6 separate regions of the Homo sapiens genome follow, and regions 2, 3, 4, 5 and 6 are each linked to region 1. The links are contacts of gene promoters, found by promoter capture Hi-C in blood cells and fetal thymus (Javierre and others, 2016). All regions are on one chromosome and are shown on one strand. Each heading gives the region's core, a stretch centred on a gene start or on the middle of the fragment in contact. The rest is flanking DNA. Distances are from core to core; before and after follow the strand shown.

Region 1 (2,933 bases), core at 255-2,754:
GAGTGCCCAAAATGTGTCCAGAATTTAAAGCAGCCAAACATAAGAGGGCTCCATGTTATGTCTTGAGTAGGGAATGAGCACAGTCTCAGAAACACCTGATTCCCTGGTATGAGCATGAAGCATCTCCAGGTCCAGCAAGGCTGCATCCAAAAACTAAACTCTGAGCTGGAAGACCTCTATATTCTGGCTGGTAGTGGCAAGCTAGGACAGCTCTCTCATGGACTGGAGGAAACGCCCTGACATATCATATACAAATTATTGATGGTGGGAGGGATTGTAAGGGGAGAAAAAGTGTGTGGGCACAAATTCAAAAATCATTTATCTTAGGCAAACATTATTAATATGAGCAAGCCATCATTTTATGTGCTTTACAGATATGAACTTGTTTAATTCTCTTAACACCTGATAGGATAATAGTAGGTACTATTATCATCAACTCCATTTCACAGATGATGAAACTGAGCCAAAGAGAGGTGAAGTAACTTCCTCAAGGTCATGGAGCTAGTAGACAGATGTGGAGCAGGGATTTGAAACTGGGCAATCTGGCTCCAGAATCCATGCTTTTACTACACTATGCTGCACCATTATGGAAATTTTGGAAAATACACAGAAACAAACACGATGACCTGTATGCACTAGCACCACTGGCCACATCTTGCTCTATAGCTTTCCTCTCCTTTATATTCATATAACATACAATACATTACATATACTTCTTTTACAAGGAATCATATTCTTTATCTTGGTCTTAAAAACATTTCCCCTATCTGTACACACAGCCTTACAATCGTTATTTTGAATGTTGTATAATATCTTCTTGTGTGGCTAAAACATTATTTAAGCAGTACCCGACTGAGGAGCACTCAGACTGCTTCCAATGTTTCTCCATGACTGAGCTCTGCAAGACGCAAAAAGGTGACAGGCTTTTTTAAAAACTACCTTTTGAACCTAATTAGCTACAACTGCAGAATAAAATTAACAAACGAAAAACTGCCAGGGAGGGCAGCCCTGTGTGTAGGAGGAGACAGCGGAAGTTGGCCGCCACCACAGTACTCCTGCTTCCCTTTGTCTGGCGGCCCCGCGGGATTGGCCAGAGCTGGCGCCGAGGGACTGCAGAGCCACCCACCCCCGTGGCTCCTACTGCGCACGCGTGAAAAAAGCCAGGTTGAGGGGAACGGGGGAGCTTCGGGCGTAGAGTGTGGGGAGTGGGGGATCTGGTGCAAATTAGGGTGCGTGAAAGAAGTCACAAAAAGCGCAGAGGCCAGGCTTCCCGCCCTAATCCGGCCTTTGTCTCCGCCCCTCTGCCTTTGTTTCGGCCCAAGCGTCTTATTGGTCAGACATCTTCAGCCCCATTGGTCCAAGAGCCAAAGGACGGGGTCTGCCCCAAGCTGTGCCTGCTTCCGGAGCCGCAATAAGAACGGTCAATTGAGATGCGGCTTTCAGGCATTTGTTTAGGACATGCCCATGGCGGGGCTTCTAAAGGGGCTTGTACGGCAACTGGAGCGGTTCAGCGTTCAACAACAAGCTTCCAAGATGCCGCCCAAAGGAAAAAGTGGTTCTGGAAAAGCGGGGAAAGGTAGAGCGGCCAGAGCGATCAAGGAGAATGGGGGCGGGTGAGGAGCGAAGGGAGGGAACAGACAGTCCATCTCCGGAGTCCGGGACGGACGCAGCAGGTAGCCAGTGGCCCCACAGTGCTGCCATCGATTACATCTGTAGGAATACATTGGGCTACGGTTCAGGGACCGTCCTAGTGGGTAATGGAATCTGATGGGGATAGTTCCTCGGAGGCGATGACTTAGGGCTGCTATTTCAAGGGGTTATTAGAGCTCTAAAATTGGGTCTTATCAAAAGCCAGCAATAGGAAGTACACATTGGTTATGGTCCTTAAAGTTCACTTTAATGCTTACAGAATGACATGCCCACCATCGGGGAAGGAATCATTCATCCATTGAACAGAAATGTGTCAGGCAGAGTGCTAAGCGCTGAGGATACACAAATAAGACAGAAGGCTGGGCGCGGTGGCTCACGCCTATAATCCCAGCACTTTGGGAGGCCGAGGGAGGATGGATCACGAGGTCAGGAGTTCGAGACCAGCTTGGCCAACATGGCGAAACCCCGTCTCTACTAAAAATACAAAAATTCGCCAGGCGTGGTGGTGGTGCGCGCCCGTAATCCCAGCTACTCGGGAGGCTGAGGCAGGAGAATCGCTTGAACTCGGGAGGCAGAGGTTGCAATGAACCGAGATCGCGCCACTGCACTCCAGCCTGGGCGACAGAGCGAGCCTCTGTCTCAAAAAAAAAAAAGAGATTTTGGCCTTAAGGAGCTCCCGAAGTAGTGAGGAAGATAAAGGCTTAGTGATCATAAAGCACTGTACTAAATGTAGTGTTGAGGGATGTGTATGGGATATAATAGAAATTGAGGGAAGTCCTTCATTTAGCTGGGGAACAGGGAACGGAAGACTTCCTGGAGATGAATTAGGCAGGTCAAGATGTGCATTGAGGGTAGGTTAAAGCATTCCTTACTTGGGGTCCAGCAGCAAAAGCACTGAGGTGAGAAACAGCATGATGTGTGCAGCGTAGTGTTGCTGGAGCAAAAACTCAAGGCAGAATGGCAAGTGGTGAGAATGAAAACAGAAACAAAGACGAGATCATGGAGAGTGCTATATATTCTGCTAAGAAGGACAGTTAAGGATCAGAAAGACCTGTAAGGAGATTGTTGTGGTAGTCTTGGTGAGAGATGATGGTGGACTGACCTAAGGGAGTGGCTGTGGGAACTGAGAAAAGAGAAAAGATTCTGTAAATATTAGGATGTGAAATAGTCAAGACTTGGTGATTTATTGGGTTGGGGAGGGGTGGTGAGGGAGGATCAACGATCATTCTGTTTTCTGGATTGGATTTCTAACCTGTTGCTGGTCCTGCAGGGTAACATCAAGG
Region 2 (2,933 bases), core at 186-2,685, 210 kb before region 1:
TTTTCTTAGCCTAGCTAGAGGCTTATTGATTTTATTGATCTTTTAAAAGAAGCAGCTTTTGGTTTTGTTGATTTTTTCTCCAATGATTTTCTGCTTTTGGTTTCATTGATTTCTGCCCTAATTTTTATTTCTTTTCTTCTGCTTACTTTGGGTTTAGTTCGCTTTTTCTTCTATTTTCCAAAGGTGGAAGCTTAGGTTTTTCTTCTTTTCTAATATATACATTCTTCATTTCTAATATGTACATGCTATAAATTTCCTTCTAAGCACTGCTTTTGCTGCATCCCTCAAATTTTGATATATTTTCATTTTCATTTAGTTCAATATATTTTGTATTTCTCTTGAGATTTTTTCTTTGATCCATGTTTTATTTAGAAATATATTGTTTAATCTCCAAGTATTTCAGGATTTTCTAGACGTCTTTCTGTTATTGATTTCTATTTCAATTCCATTGTAGTCTGAGAGCAGACATTATATGATTGCTATTCCTTTAAACTTGTAAAAGTGTGTTTTATGGCCCATAAAAAAGTATTAACTGTTGTCAGATTTATCCTCACTGAGCATCCAACAATTCATCAATTACAATTCAGGTTTTCCTACTCCAGTACTGATTTCTGTTCATGAGTTTCTCTTCCCATGAGTTGTGATTCTCTGTGTTCATCTGTCTGTCTCTAATTTTGAGGGCAGAGGTTTGCCCTGTGACCTCATTTCTCTGATTAATCTAAGAAGAGGTATTGATTTTTCAGTGTGTTCAGCTTTTTACTTGTTAGGATGGGGAGCGACTTCTAAGCTGCGTGCATGTTAACCGGAAGTCAATCTTTTTTTTTTTTTTTAAGAGACAGGGTCTCTGCCCCATTGTCCAGGCTGGAGTGCAGTGGTACAATCATAGCTCATTGTAACCTCATATTCTTGGGCTCAAGCAATGTTCCTGCCTCAGCCTCCCTAGTATCTGGGACCACAGGCACACACCACCATGCCTGGCTAATTTATTTAATTTTTTGTAGAGATGGGGGTCTTACTATGTTGCACAGGCTGGTCTGGAACTCCTGGCCTCAAGCAGTCCTCCTACCTTGGCCTCCCAAAGTGCTGGGATGACAAAGAGCAGTGGCATGAGCCACTGCTCTTCACACTGTCATGCTTGAAGTGGAACCTGCCACTTCATTTCATACTGCTGAATAATATTCCATTCCATCTTATAGCTATACCACATTTTATTTATCCATTTACTAGTTGATACACATTTGTGCTGTTTCTACTTTTTGGATATTATGAATAATGCTGCAATAAATATTTATGTAATGTGAGCTCTTTCTGCCCTTTTTTGTATGGCATCCTTTGATGCACAAAAATTTTTCACCTTGATTAAGTTTAACTTGTCAATCTTTTTTTTTGCTTGTGTTTTTGGTGTCATATGTAGGAAATCATTGCCTAACCCAATATCATGCAGATTTTCTTCCATGTTTTATTCTAAGAGTTTTATAGTTTTAGCTTTTACATTTAGTCTATAATCTTCTTTAATTTTTGTGTATAATCTCAGATAGAGGTCCTACTTTATTCCTTTGCATGTGGCTATCCAGTTGTTCAGAATTATTTGTTAAAAAGACTTTTCTTTCCCCATTTAATTATCTTGATATCTTTGTCAAAAATCAGTTGACCATAATTTTAGGGTTTCTTTATCATCTCTTGCTTATTCAGTTGATCTAAATATCTAGTCTTGTGCTAGCACCATGCAGTCTTGATTATTGTAGCTTTGTGGTAAGTTTTGATATTGGAAAGTATAAATCCCCCAAGTTTGCTGTTCTTTTTCAAGAACATTTTGGCTATTCTGAGCCCCTTTCATTTCCATATGGATTGTAGGATCAGCTTGTCAACTTCTGCCAAAAAAGATAGCTGGGATTTTCACAGGGATTGTGTTGAATCTGTAGATAAATTTGGGCCATGTAGCTATCTTAACAATATTAAATTTTCTGATATATGAACATGAGATGTTTTCCCATTTATTTATATCTTTTAAGATTTTTTCAACCATGTTTTCTAGTTTTCGAAGTAAGAAATTTTTACTTCTTTTGTTAAATTTATCCCTCCTTTTTTTTTATGCTTTTGTAAGTTGAACGGTTTTCTTTTTTTCTTTTTTTTTTTTCTTTTTTTTTTTTTGAGACAGTCTCGCTCTGTTGCCCAGGCTGGAGTGCAATGGCGCAATCTTGGTTCACTGCAACCTCCACCGCCTGGGTTCAAGCGATTCTCCTGCTTCAGCCTCCCCAGTAGCTGGGATTACAGGCACCCACCACTGCGCATGGCTAATTTTTGTATTTTTAGTAGAGACGGGGTTTCCCCATGTTGGCCAGGCTGGTTTCGAACTCCTGACCTCAGGTGATCCACTCGCTTCAGCCTCTCAAAGTGCTGGGATTACAGGCGTGAGCCATCACGTCCGGCCAAATGGTTTTCTTAATTTCATTTAGCAAACTTGTTGAATTTGTTTATTAATTCTCATAGATTTTTAGTGGTTTCCTTAGGATTTTCTATATACAAGGTCATATTATCTACAAATAGAGATAGTTTTACTTCTTCCTTTTTAATCTGTATGCCTTTTGTTTCTTTTTCTTTTTAAACTAATTGCTCTAGCTAGAACCTCCATTACAATGCTGAACAGAGGTAGTGAGAACAAACACCCTTGTCTTAGGGAAAAGCTTTCTGTTTTTCACCATTAAGTATGGTATTGGCTGTGGGTTTTTCGTAGATGCATTTATCAGGTTGGGATGTTTCCTTCTATTTCTAGTATGTTGAGTGTTTTTATCATAAACAGGTGTTAGATTTTGTCAGATAGTTTTCTGCATCTGTTGAAATCAGCGTGTGGTTTTGGCCCTTTATTCTAATGATTTTTAATTCATTTTCAGATGTTAAACCAACTTAAAATTCCTGGGATAAATCTCTTTTGT
Region 3 (2,933 bases), core at 174-2,673, 200 kb before region 1:
GCTTTATGACCTGTATCTTGTGCCGACCCCCTATCTCATGCTGTGACTAAGAAGGCCTAACTTACTGGGACCGCAGCCCAGCAGGTCTCATCCTTATTTTACCCAGCCCCTATTCAAGATGGAGTTGCTGTGGTTCAAACACCTCTGACATTTCCCCCCTCACTTTTATAAGAGAACCCTTAATCCTAAGGGTTGCAGAGGGACAAAGATCCATCTTCTAATGAATAGCGGTGATGATATTCCTGTCTAACTATTAGATCTCTTGCAATCAGGGTAGAGAGGAGCTCAGTCAGAAAGCATTGGTATGTCATGGGCCATTCACAATTCTGAGTTCTGACAAAAGGTGATATCTTGAAGATTAATAAGTATTCAATGTAAGAAAACATTCGGTAAGCTTATCCTGCATTCCTACACAAAGAGTACAACAGCAATATATTCCACAATAGTAAAGCAAAATAAGTAAAATTGTCCCTAGTAAACTAAATTAGAAAGCTTTCCATGAACTAGGCATTTGTTGGAACCAAGCTAATATGGGGTTGCTAGCCAATTTCAATATGTGCCCAGAATTGGAATACTGATCCAGATTTTTACATTACCCATCCCTCTTGTTTCTTCTGAGAAGCAGTCAGAGATCACTGGATGATTCACAGGAATAAGCAGAGTCAGTATAAATTGCAGAAAAATACTTAAAAACAACTAATGAGACTAAAAGCTAATAACAGGTATACCACAATTCTTGAAACATAATTTTTTCTCTCTCCAGTCTCCCATTTTTACTAAAGGTAAATCATGGTAAGACTGATTTGCTTTATTATACCTGGTTGGACTGTTTGTATAAAGTGCAGCAAGAATAATTATTTTTCACATAAGCCCTTTTTAAATTGGCTTTAATGGAGCTCTATTTCTTTCCTTTTTTTTTTTTTTTGAGATGGAGTCTTGCTCTGTCGCCCAGGCTGGAGTGCAGTGGCACGATCTCGGCTCACTGCAAGCTCTGCCTCCCGGGTTCATGCCATCCTCCTGCCTCAGCCTCCTGAGTAGCTGGGACTACAGGCACCTGCCACCATGCCCGGCTAAGTTTTTGTATTTTTAGTAGAGATGGGGTTTCACTGTGTTAGCCAGGATGGTGTCGATCTCCTGACCTCGTGGTCCGCCCACCTTGGCCTCCCAAAGTGCTGGGATTACAGGCATGAGCCACCGTGCCCGGCTGATGGAGCTCTGTTTCATAGATGGAATCTCAGATCTTTTTAAAGCCGAGCCCAGCCATGGATTTGTGCCCTCAAATACCCATAAGTTGAGTAAATCCCTCTCCCCTTGAGGTCCCAAGATAACTTGGGGCTCCTGGGCCTGTCAGAAGGTGACATTCTTTAAACTTACCACAGGTCAGGAACCTTGTACAGGAACTGTGTAGACAAGGTATGAGGCCAGTTTCCCAAGGGGCTTTTATTGGCTCTATAAGTCAAGTTTGATTCCTTAAAGGAAAGCACACCATTCCATTCAAAGCCTTGGTAAAATAACCAGTTTCTCAAATTGTGTCCTGTTGCAAAAGAAAACAGATTCTTATTGCACTTATGCAAATAACTATTGCTATAAGTTAAGAACACTCACAACTAGTTTCCAAATTCTGGAGAAATCAGGTAGAGAGAAACAAATATGCTCCAAGTTTTATTCCCAGGAATATACTTTACTCAATTGTTAAAAGCTGTAAATAGCTTAAAAGAAAAGTTTCTTTGACTCTGAAAAACAAAACAAAAGGATCCGCAATGCTTTAAGCTAAGTTAAAAAAGATTGCTTCAGTCTTCTATTAGGTCAGTCCATTCAGTCAACTCCTGTTCTGCTTTATATTCATGAACATTTCAGCTTTCCATGAGTCTTGAAAGTTTTTCCTCTATTCTAATGTCATAATCTCCAAAGTTATTAGAAACCTGCATTCAAGAACACCTGTTAGAGTCCTGTAGCTGATTATAAACCACCTTTTAAAGAGGATCAAAACAAGACAACAATTGCCTGTGGATGACAAAATGTCTTAGGGCAGCCACAGCCAAAAACATGATTGACAAAGAAATTTGGTTACCTCTACGGCACACAATGATTTTATGTAATAATTATAATTATTACTGATAATATATGCTAAGTTATATTAGGATTATAAGAGTTTCCCATAATTTTGAACACATACCAATAACATATTTCTAGAAATACAGCCCAAAAAAGCCAAACACCATCTTATATTTGAGAATGTTTCCTGTATGACTTTTATACCAAATAAGCCAAATGTCACTTTTGGACTTTAGGCAACCTAATATCTAAAAGATTAATTAGGTCAGAAAAAGTCATAGTTTATAATTTCACTTTGGAAAGCTTATCAAATATTAAAGGCTTAAGTCACTTGATATTATAAAAAGAATCCCAGGTCACCGTAAGTCACTCATTTAACCAAAATGATAAATATTTTAAAAAGGCAAAACCCCATACTCACTAAGAGAGGAGAGAATCAGCTTTCTAAACAAGACCCAATAAAGACAGCATGAGGCCAATTGAATCTTGAATCTGTCTTTTCTTTTTCCCCTCCCTTTTTCCCTGCCATTTATCCAAAGTCATAGACAAAAACCTTTCATTATCTTTTCATATTATGTAAAAATCTTTTTTGAAACAGAAAACCAAATTTCATATTTGCATTAGTGCATTTTTCATGCCAAAGCTAGTTTTAAATAACATTTTATAAGTTTATCCAGTTTTAATTAGTTTGACCATAAGGTATGATTTTCATAAACCTCTTATAACTCTTTATAATTTTTGTTAAACAGATCAATCTTCTAAGAAAACCCTGTTATTTGGACACGTGGGCCCAAATTCTGGCACCAAATCAGTATGCTTTTAGTCCAATGTTCAGTTTATGGAAAAACTGAATACCCCTTTAATTTGAGCGAATATGT
Region 4 (2,933 bases), core at 243-2,742, 170 kb before region 1:
TGGTTCTACCAGACTGGGTTAGTGCTGAGGGGCAGGCATCGAGATGGCAATTTCGGACATGTTGATGAGATGATTACTTGAAAATGTCCAGAAAGTAACTAGAATCTGATCCCAGGGGCAAGTGAGAGGTCAGCTCTCAAGATATAAATTTGGGATAAGCCCACGTTGAGGTAGGAGTTAGACCTGAGGCCCAGGTTCCATTAAGGTTATCCAGGGAGAAGGTGTTGGGAAAGTTGCAGAATGACTCCAGGATAAGTCCAGAGGTAGAGAAAGTAGGCCCCAGTGGTATCTCTTCTCTGCCTCCTCATTTCTGTTCCCATGGTTAGCACCCTGTTTCAGGACTTCAATTTGTGACAGGACCACTGCAGCAATCTCCTTACTGGCCTCCTTTCTGCTTTTGGTCTCTCTGCCTGTCCGAATTTTCTTTTTAAAACATGGCTTTCATCATGTCCCTTCCCAACATTCAACAAGTCCAAACTGCTTAGCCTTGCATTCTCACCCACTGCGATCCAGCTTCCCACCAACCTGACACATCTTTGGTGAGTTGGCTCCGCGTTCCCCTTTCCAGGTTCATGGTTTATCCGTCTCTCAGACCTTACTGTGTGGCTACACAGAACCCCAAATACACACTGCCTTCCTCTCCTCCATGCTATCTCCACCCCTGGGATGCTCTTTGACCCTCTTTCCATTTGGAAAAATCTCACTCAGGCATCAAGGCCCAGTGCAAGTCTCCTGCATTTCCCCAACCCCTCAGAGGCAGGCAGATGCCTTCCCACCTCTGTGCACCCTCCTCTCCAGCTCTCGCTCTGTTGCCCAGGCTGGAGTGCAGTGGTGCCATCACGGCTTACTGCAGCCTTAACCTGCTGGGCTCAAATGAGCCTCCTGCCTCAGCCTCCCGAGGAGCTGGGACCACAGATGTGCCACCATGCCTGGCTAATTAATTTTGTAGAGAAAGGTTCTTGCTCTGTTGCCCAGGCTGGTCTTGAACTCCTGACCTCAAGAGATCTTCTCACCTTGGCCTCTCAAAGTGCTGGGATTACAGGTATGAGCCACTGCTCCTAGCCATCCAGTTTTTCGTATACACCATGGGACTGCAAGTCTCTCCCACAAGACTCTGAGGGCAGTGACCATGACTCGTTTTGCTCTGCAATTCCATTGCCCAGCCCAGTGTGAATGGACAAGAAAGTGGGGCTGAGGATGGGCTGGTATGGCAGGGCAAAGAGGAAGTGGAATGGTCTCTTTCAAACCTCACCATGGATCTACTTGAGCCACTTTTACCTGCTCTCTCCCTACAAGTACTGTCTTTGGATGAGGGTTTGTGGAAGAGCTAGGAAAGAGAAGGAGCCAAGGCAAGGGACAGGCAGAGGGAGCAGCGTGGAGAAGAGAGGAGATGCTGAGAGGATGAAAGAGAAAGAAAGTGGGGGAGAGCAAACGTCTGCATTGGTGGTTCACATACATAAAGGATTCAGGTATGGTAGAGTGGAATAAGAAAACATTTGGGATTCTGAAAATAAAATCAGCTGCTTTGGCAGGTCAGCTGAATGTACAGTTAATTAATAGGCATTAGTGCCCTTTGGTGCTAAGCTGTGCATGGAACCATGTCCTGCTGGGATCAAATGGCAGCTACCCGGGGATGCCCTTTTAATAAAGAGCAGAAAGCAGCACTGCCATGTAAGAGCTGCAGAATCCCTCAGAGAGTTCTTCTTAAGGGCACCAGGGACCACTGGAACCCCAGAGTTGCCCCACATCACTGGCCTGGCTCTTGCCAAAGAAAGGTGGGCATGAGAAGAGAACTAACACATACTGAGCAGCTAGTATCCCAGGGGCTATGCCAGACACACAAAAGCTCATTTGATCTTTACTGCAACTCTGTGAGGTAGCAATTAGCCCTGTTTTACAGATTAGAAAATCAAGGTCCTAAGGAGGGTTAAGAATCTTGCCCAAGGGCACACCGCTTGAAAGTCTTGGATCCCAGATTCCAATGAAGGTCATCCTCTCCCCTTGATGAGCGGGCCAGGACCCAGAGGTTGGCAGCAGTTTGCTCTCCATTCTGGCTGACTTTGGCTGTGGGGCTGATCTCTTTGGATTGATTTCTTTGAACATAAACAAAATACCATCAGTTTTTCCTGGCTTTGGAATGAGCCCTCAGAATCATGTGCTTTTCTCCAGTTTCCAGCTGGGTGCCTTTGCTGGGGGAGTTCGTGAATATGAAGCAACAGGTCTCATTCTGAGAATCAACACTGTGCACCAAAAAATACCAGGGTACTTTTGCTCCCAGGAGGTATTTCAAGCTGGAGGCTTTCAGCCTATGGGGCCAAGTTTTCCATTTTTTCTTCCCTTTCAATGACCTGCATATGATTGACAGTTGCCTGTTTTCCCAGGAAAATTATAAAATCTTTATCAAAATATTGGCACCTTTGAGTTGTTGCCCACACTCTGTTCTGACTGACTGTGTGACCCACGTCCCTATCTGCTCAGTGGTTGGACGTGTTCTGTCTGCTGTCAACCTGTGAGTCGGTGAGTAGAGGACAGGAGGTATGGACAGGACAGGCTGCGGACAGTGTTTTCCAAAATTCTGATGTGACATGTTTAAGCCAATTCGTGGAGGAGCCAATGGAGGTAGAGTGGCTGGAGCCAATAAGGGGTTTAGAGCAGGGGACAAAATGGCACCCAGCACCACCCCATGGAGATGCGGCTTTGGGGTGGGGTAAGTTGGCTAGAAAACCGATGATGATCGTTTTCTGGAGTTGTTCTGGAGTCAGGAACAGTCTAGAAACCCTTTGAATTGAACCTTGGCACAGAGTTGTATGTCCCACACATGTGATAGGGTATTAGGATTATCATGCTGCATGCAAGACCTTCTGAAATCTTGCTGCATAACAGAACTTTCAGTCATACATAATGACATGCTGAGGAATAAGTTGCTCGTCTTG
Region 5 (2,933 bases), core at 289-2,788, 150 kb before region 1:
CGCTGCCCAGGCCTCATCCCAGACTATTGGAATCTGACTCTAGGGATGGGGATGGAGTTGGAGTATTTTTTCTGCAGCTCCTCAGGAGATTCTAAAGTGGAGACAAAGCTGAGAACCATGGCCTCAGAAGGAAAAGGGCCTGTGTGCTGCTCTTTGGGGACAACAAGGAAGGAAGAAGAAACTCAGAGATCATGCCCTGCTCTGCAGACAGGATGAAAAAGAACAGAAGCCCAGGCATGGGGAGGAGGTGGGCAGCTTTAAGCTTTAGGAAACAGTGGGAGCTGGAGCCTGCAGCAAGAAAGAGCTATGGGGAAGGCACCACAGCCAGAGGCTGTCCCAGGCCCTGCCAGGCCAATGGCCTAGGTGGTTTTCCTGCAGAAGGAAATGGGAAATATGGAGGTGAGGGCGAGATAAGGTTGTAAGGATGTACTCACAGCCTCTTTCTGCACCCTCAAATGGCAGATCCTGATAAGTTGTTAACACCTTGTAAGAAACACGAGAGACAGTCTGTTCCACCTCCTCCCCTGGCACACATACAAAATGACTCCCCATCTACCCACTCATAAGATCACATCCGGATTCCACCATCACCCAACCCAGCAGAAAGTCCCACCTCTGGTCTCTGTAAATATCTGCCAGCCAGAGCAGTACAGCATGCCAGGGTCAGACACCAGTTCCCCAAGTGTGCTACCTTTTGTTATAAGAGGAGACTTCAGCAACTTGGGAGCTGGGCAGGGCTGCAGTGATGATCTTTTCAATGTGTGAAGAAGGGAAACTGTGTTTGAGAGGAGAAGAGGAAAGTGGTTGGCCTATGGTGCCACAGGGAGTAGCAGAAGAGACAGGATTCCCTGTCCAGTGCTCCCTTCCCTACACACCCTGAGACTTCAGCTTTGGTCCCTAATCTGCCAGTGCCAGGAAACTGGCCCACTTCCCACTACAGCCCTGTGGCTCTGACAGGGTCTCTCATGATATCCAGCAGAGATCTTGAGTCAGCTGCTCTGAAGGAACTTCCAGTAAGGCTCCAGCTTGGAGTCTGGATCAGGAGTTGGGGCATGGGGCATTTTGAGTTTCGTGCTTATGTTGCCTTCCCCCCATCTTTTGCTCCTGGACATCTTTTGGCTAGGTGGGGTTTTCCTCACTCCCCACCTCCAAAGCGGAGACTATGTCTTTAAGAAAGGACGAGTCAGAGCCGCGGGGATCAGTTTCAAGCAGCCCTCAGAAGGCGAATCTGGATTGAGTTTAGGAAGAAAAAAGAAGGGGTTAGCTTTGGTCCTGCCTCCTTTCCTTTCTCTCATTTGCTCGTCTCTCCTCCGTCCTTCGTCTGGAAATTTGGTGAACTTGGCCAGGAGGTTCCAGAGCCCAGGGCTTTCCCCAGCAGCCTCGTCCTCTCACCTGGTCCCTCCTTCAGCTCCTGAGCACACAGTTTGGAGGACAGCTGGACAAGTGGCTGGAATGAGTAGGTACGTGGTCTGGACATTTTAACCTTCACCCTGTCAGGGAAGTCTGGGGAGTGTCCAACACAGACCCTGTGGGAGGCGGAAGGGAACTCTCAAGACCTCCGAGAACCTTGGTAACCGAGGCAGGAAGGAGATGGGTGGGCTTTGGTGACTCCACTAGGGGTTTTGTATTAAGGGTCAGAAGGAGGCTTGGTCCATGCAGCCTGGCCTACCTCCACCCTCGTGAGTTGCCTACCAAACCCATGATGGGTGGGAGTTTAGGAGTGTGAGGTGTTGAGTTTGCTGCTGCTGCTGCTGCCGCTGCTGCTGCTGCTGCCACTGCTGCTGCTAGAGGAATGGAGGCCAGAGGGTGCTAGGAACCCTATGAGAAAAGCAGATGGCAACATGTCCAGCCCCAGCCATCTGTGACTCTGGTGGCATGGAACCACTCAGCTAAGGTGAATGGGATTCAGTCTGCTCCAGCTGCATGTGCAGTGGGCCAGGAGCCACTCAAGGTCTTCTTGGGCTTACTTTTTTCAACTTTGTTGGATGACTACAAGCAAGGCTTTTAGCTTTTAAGGACTTCAGTTTACACTTCAGGGAAAATGACTTAATGCTACTCAGCTGAAAGGGGGAAGCACAAAGGAAGAGGTAGAGAAGGCAAACTGGGTTTGTGATAGAGATTCAAGGAGAGCTCGAGATTTCTGTGAGCTCAAGGATGTTTTCCCCTATTATTTTAGGAATAATTCATTCATTTATTTGTGTATTTAATCAGCAAGCATCAGTTAAATGCCTATTGGTGCCCGTCACTGGTGTCAGGGAACCAGCAATCCAATATGGCAGCAGGTCCTTCCGCCTGGCCTCCTTCCCCAGATCTCTACTCCTCCCTTTCCCTCACCCCTCAGCTGATTTGAGAGAGGAAGGGGCACTAGCTTCTAGTGTACTGAGGTGACATGATAAGGTCATGATAGGTGCTGACATTGTTGGCACTAGAGTGGGTACATCTCATTTGACAACACTCTCTCTTGAAAGAGATTTGGGCCTGGGTCCCAAACATTACCTCAGCCACTGGGAAGGATTTTGAAGGTCAGGAAACAACAGGGATCCACAAGTTCAGCCTAACCCCTCCCTGACAGAAGGGGTGGCCCAGGCCTTCTTTGGACATTGTCGGTAGAGCTGGGCCCCTGGTTGGGTCCTCAGCATCATATGTGGACCAAGCGTTGTTTGGATTTGCCAAGAACATCTAAGGACTTTGGTCTTTGTGATTTAAGTAAGTTGTCATAACTTGGGCAGGAGGCATGCTGGGATCTCAGCCACCTGGCTGTTGGGGAAGGGATAGGGTTGGGAATACTGGCTCTTGGGTGGTCCTTTGGGTGTGGAAAGCTTAGGCATGGCATAGACAAGCATGTATGTGTGTATGATATAGGAAGTATCCCCCAGGAGAAAAGGCCCGGCAAAAGCAAGGCAGAGTCTAACCCTGTCCAAGTAGGGTTGGGG
Region 6 (2,933 bases), core at 270-2,769, 140 kb before region 1:
GAAGCAGATGTTCAGGGCCAATATGGCTACAGTGGAGGACATTGTGGCTTTTTGGATTCTTGCTTGCTTGGGGCTCACTTGAGACAACCAGATTTAGGGCAGCTGACTGAATCCAGATTCCACCCAATTTTTGGAATTCTTCCCCCTAATCAAGTGGCAGGGAAGGTCCTGCTCCTAAACAAGAACTTACAACCACTTCAGCATGAGCATCAACCAGTATCCTTGTCAGGTGGCCCCCATTCCTCTACATTCCTGGATGGTTTGGGATCCCACAGAACTCTAATGATTACATAAGAAGAGTGGCCCGCTCTCTCCGGTCCATGCCTCCAAGATGACAAAGAAAAGAAGGAACAACAGTCATGCCAAAAAGGGCCGCGGCCACGTGCAGCCTATTCGCTGCACTAACTGTGTCCGATGCGTGCCCACAGACAAGGCCATTAAGAAATTCGTCATTCGAAACATAGTGGAGGCCGCAGCAGTCAGGGACATTTCTGAAGTGAGCGTCTTCGATGCCTATGTGCTTCCCAAGCTGTATGTGAAGCTACATTACTGTGTGAGTTGTGCAATTCACAGCAAAGTAGTCAGGAATCGATCTCGTGAAGCCTGCAAGGACCGAACACCCCCACCCCGATTTAGACCTGCGGGTGCTGCCCCACGTCCCCCACCAAAGCCCATGTAAGGAGCTGAGTTCTTAAAGACTGAAGACAGGCTATTCTCTGGAGAAAAATAAAATGGAAATTGTACTTAAAAAAAAAAAAAAAGAAGAGTGGCCCAAGGTAATTTTCTAACTGATGTGGCACTGGCTGCATAGCATGCTAGAAGCCCCCACGTGGAGCTATCTGGCCATCAGGGTCCAAGCTGACACTGGGAAGAGGAGCTGGAGACAACTAAGACCCAGCAGCCTTCCCAGCATCTAGCACACATAACAGCCCAAGTCAGGGCATGAGAAGCAGTCTGAATACAATGTCAAGAGTCACAGGGGTGTGGGAAACACTCAAGGCAGGTCTGCTACAGATGACTGTACTTGGGGAGTGCAGGGGAGCAGGGTGAAATAGCAGTCCTGGGCATACAATGGGAGGGATTAGCAGAGTCCCAGCAATGAGGGAAGGAGGGGCTGGCAGGAGCCAGACAGACCAGCGTGGCTCCCCAGCTGCCAGCTGAGGCTCAGGACTAGGTGCCAGGTCCCTTGTGGTGGGGTTGCTGGAGAGACCAAGGATGTTGGCCCGACACACAGTGGCCAGTCAGGAAAACCAGCCCCTCGTGGCAGGGGTGGAGGGGTGGTGGGAGGTGGGAGGCCCCCGTGGCCTCTGGGGCTCAGCTTGCTTCCAGGCTCAGAGGCATCACCCAGGGCAGCATACACTATTTGCAGTCCCCCTCTTATACCACTTTCTGAGGAGGGAACCCCCCAGTCCCCGGTCAGACTGGATTCACTCTGATTCCAGAGCAGGGCCAGTTGAGCAGGAAGAAGGGCTTTGACCTTCCCTGCTTACGGAGACAGGCCTTGGCCAGGCAGAGACTGACATATAAATAGCTTTTTATTCACTCAGAGCTTTAAGATGACCATGTGTGCCTTTTCGTATTGTGTACAGACCGCATACCTATGGCCCGCACAATTTGCATTTGTGCAGGGATATGGCAACAGTAAAAGTCTGCCAAACTGCTTTCATTTTTCTGATATGACTGAGAACTTCCCAGTGCCAAGGGCCCAAATGGGAACTCCCCCAGTTTTCTTAAGCTCCCTTCATAGACAGGTATAAACACCTAAACAGAGCTGCAGACAACCCCCACTCCCTCACCCTCATTCAGGGAGACAGTATCATGTTCATGGCCAATGAAAATCAAGACTGTCTCATGGAAACAGAGGGGCTCACCCGCATTGGTCCTGGGATGTTGCTAAGCACTTTCATTGGTCTGTTTCCCCGAATTCCCTAGGTCCTGCATTTCTAACCTTTTAAGGTTTGGAGTTTCTTTGCTCCTAGGCCGGCCCACAACCTCGTCTGATAGGTAAAGGACAGAATCTCTTAGACAACACCAGGCAACCTGTCTTCCCAGAAAAGTACTAAATGGCACTAGACTCTAAAATTCATCCCTAAAATTCTAAGAGCCATAAGGCAGCTCCATATACTGAGTAGAGGCATTGACCAGGCCAAGGGCTGCAAGTGGCAGACAGCTTGTGCTTCCCAGTTCCTGCATCTTTAAAACAAAGAGAAAAATACTCCTTGTACCTCCTGAGGGCTGATATGAGAGCAAACTAACTAATCAGAGTGATCACGATGCACTTTGCCAATATAAAAGTGAGCCGGCAGTGCTCATTATCGCTAAGGAATCTAGCCCATTTCCTCCTCTTCCTGTGGTTACTAATGCAGAAGGCTTATTAAAGTTGAGAGTCTGGTGGTGCTGATAAATGGGCCATGCCATCTGGATTCTGGCTCCCAAGTCCTAGACTGAGGATTATGCTCTCTTCCCTGGGGACATTTCAAGGACGGACACTGCAGAGAAAGGTTTCAGGGATCACCTTTGCCATGTGTTTCTGGTTCTCGGTGTCTTTACATTGCTGGCAAAGCACCTTTTGCTGGCCCAGAGCAAGATTCAGATGGAGCAGATAAATGAGTTGCCGCTGTGCTGCACTGGGCTGGTTTCTCTTGTAAGTCTTTTTTCATTTAAGCCCCCAAACAACATTATTAATTTGGTATTGTTATTAGTAACAACAGAGTTGTGCAGATGGAAAGACTGAGATTCAGAGAGGTTAAGTGACATCTCCAAAGTCACAAAGCTAATAAGTGGCAGAGCCGGAATTAAAACTTAGGTTTGTTTAACTCAAAATGCACTGTGATGAGCACACACAATAGCTGTCATTCACCTTGAAGGTGGTGAAGTTAAAACATGGTTGCACCCTTATTTCCCCTCCCAGCACCCCCACCCCTGGCCACAAC

What was found. The method cuts DNA at HindIII sites, captures the fragments that hold promoters and counts their contacts. A CHiCAGO score of 5 or more calls a contact.
Region 2: a contact is called between a fragment that was not itself captured here and the fragment with the promoter of PIN4 in region 1, in 1 of 17 cell types (neutrophils). The highest score is 5.6, in neutrophils.
Region 3: a fragment that was not itself captured here is called in contact with the fragment with the promoter of PIN4 in region 1 in 2 of 17 cell types (neutrophils and M1 macrophages); the score reaches 6.0 in neutrophils.
Region 4: a fragment that was not itself captured here is called in contact with the fragment with the promoter of PIN4 in region 1 in 10 of 17 cell types (neutrophils, monocytes, M0 macrophages and 7 more); the score reaches 18.2 in neutrophils.
Region 5: a fragment that was not itself captured here is called in contact with the fragment with the promoter of PIN4 in region 1 in 3 of 17 cell types (neutrophils, naive B cells and total B cells); the score reaches 8.4 in neutrophils.
Region 6: a contact is called between a fragment that was not itself captured here and the fragment with the promoter of PIN4 in region 1, in 1 of 17 cell types (neutrophils). The highest score is 9.0, in neutrophils.

The regions. Positions count from the first base shown.
Region 1 is chrX:72,180,253-72,183,185 of GRCh38, forward strand. PIN4 (peptidylprolyl cis/trans isomerase, NIMA-interacting 4) reads left to right here and starts at 1,505. Exons shown (of 4, transcript NM_006223.4): 1 at 1,505-1,576. The coding sequence starts at 1,534. RefSeq lists an enhancer at 1,545-1,764. The HindIII fragment of the contact is 4,711 bases long and covers 1-1,523 here.
Region 2 is chrX:71,967,182-71,970,114 of GRCh38, forward strand. The region is part of intron 1 of NHSL2 (NHS like 2); the gene reads left to right. Among named protein-coding and RNA genes, the nearest start is that of NHSL2, 58 kb to the left of the region's middle. The HindIII fragment of the contact is 2,494 bases long and covers 189-2,682 here.
Region 3 is chrX:71,983,917-71,986,849 of GRCh38, forward strand. All of the region lies in intron 1 of NHSL2 (NHS like 2), which reads left to right. Among named protein-coding and RNA genes, the nearest start is that of NHSL2, 75 kb to the left of the region's middle. The HindIII fragment of the contact is 1,866 bases long and covers 491-2,356 here.
Region 4 is chrX:72,005,781-72,008,713 of GRCh38, forward strand. The region is part of intron 1 of NHSL2 (NHS like 2); the gene reads left to right. Among named protein-coding and RNA genes, the nearest start is that of NHSL2, 96 kb to the left of the region's middle. The HindIII fragment of the contact is 9,584 bases long and covers 1-2,933 here.
Region 5 is chrX:72,026,240-72,029,172 of GRCh38, forward strand. All of the region lies in intron 1 of NHSL2 (NHS like 2), which reads left to right. Among named protein-coding and RNA genes, the nearest start is that of RTL5, 100 kb to the right of the region's middle. The HindIII fragment of the contact is 2,557 bases long and covers 261-2,817 here.
Region 6 is chrX:72,044,214-72,047,146 of GRCh38, forward strand. All of the region lies in intron 1 of NHSL2 (NHS like 2), which reads left to right. It also overlaps the pseudogene RPS26P11. Among named protein-coding and RNA genes, the nearest start is that of RTL5, 86 kb to the right of the region's middle. The HindIII fragment of the contact is 3,461 bases long and covers 1-2,933 here.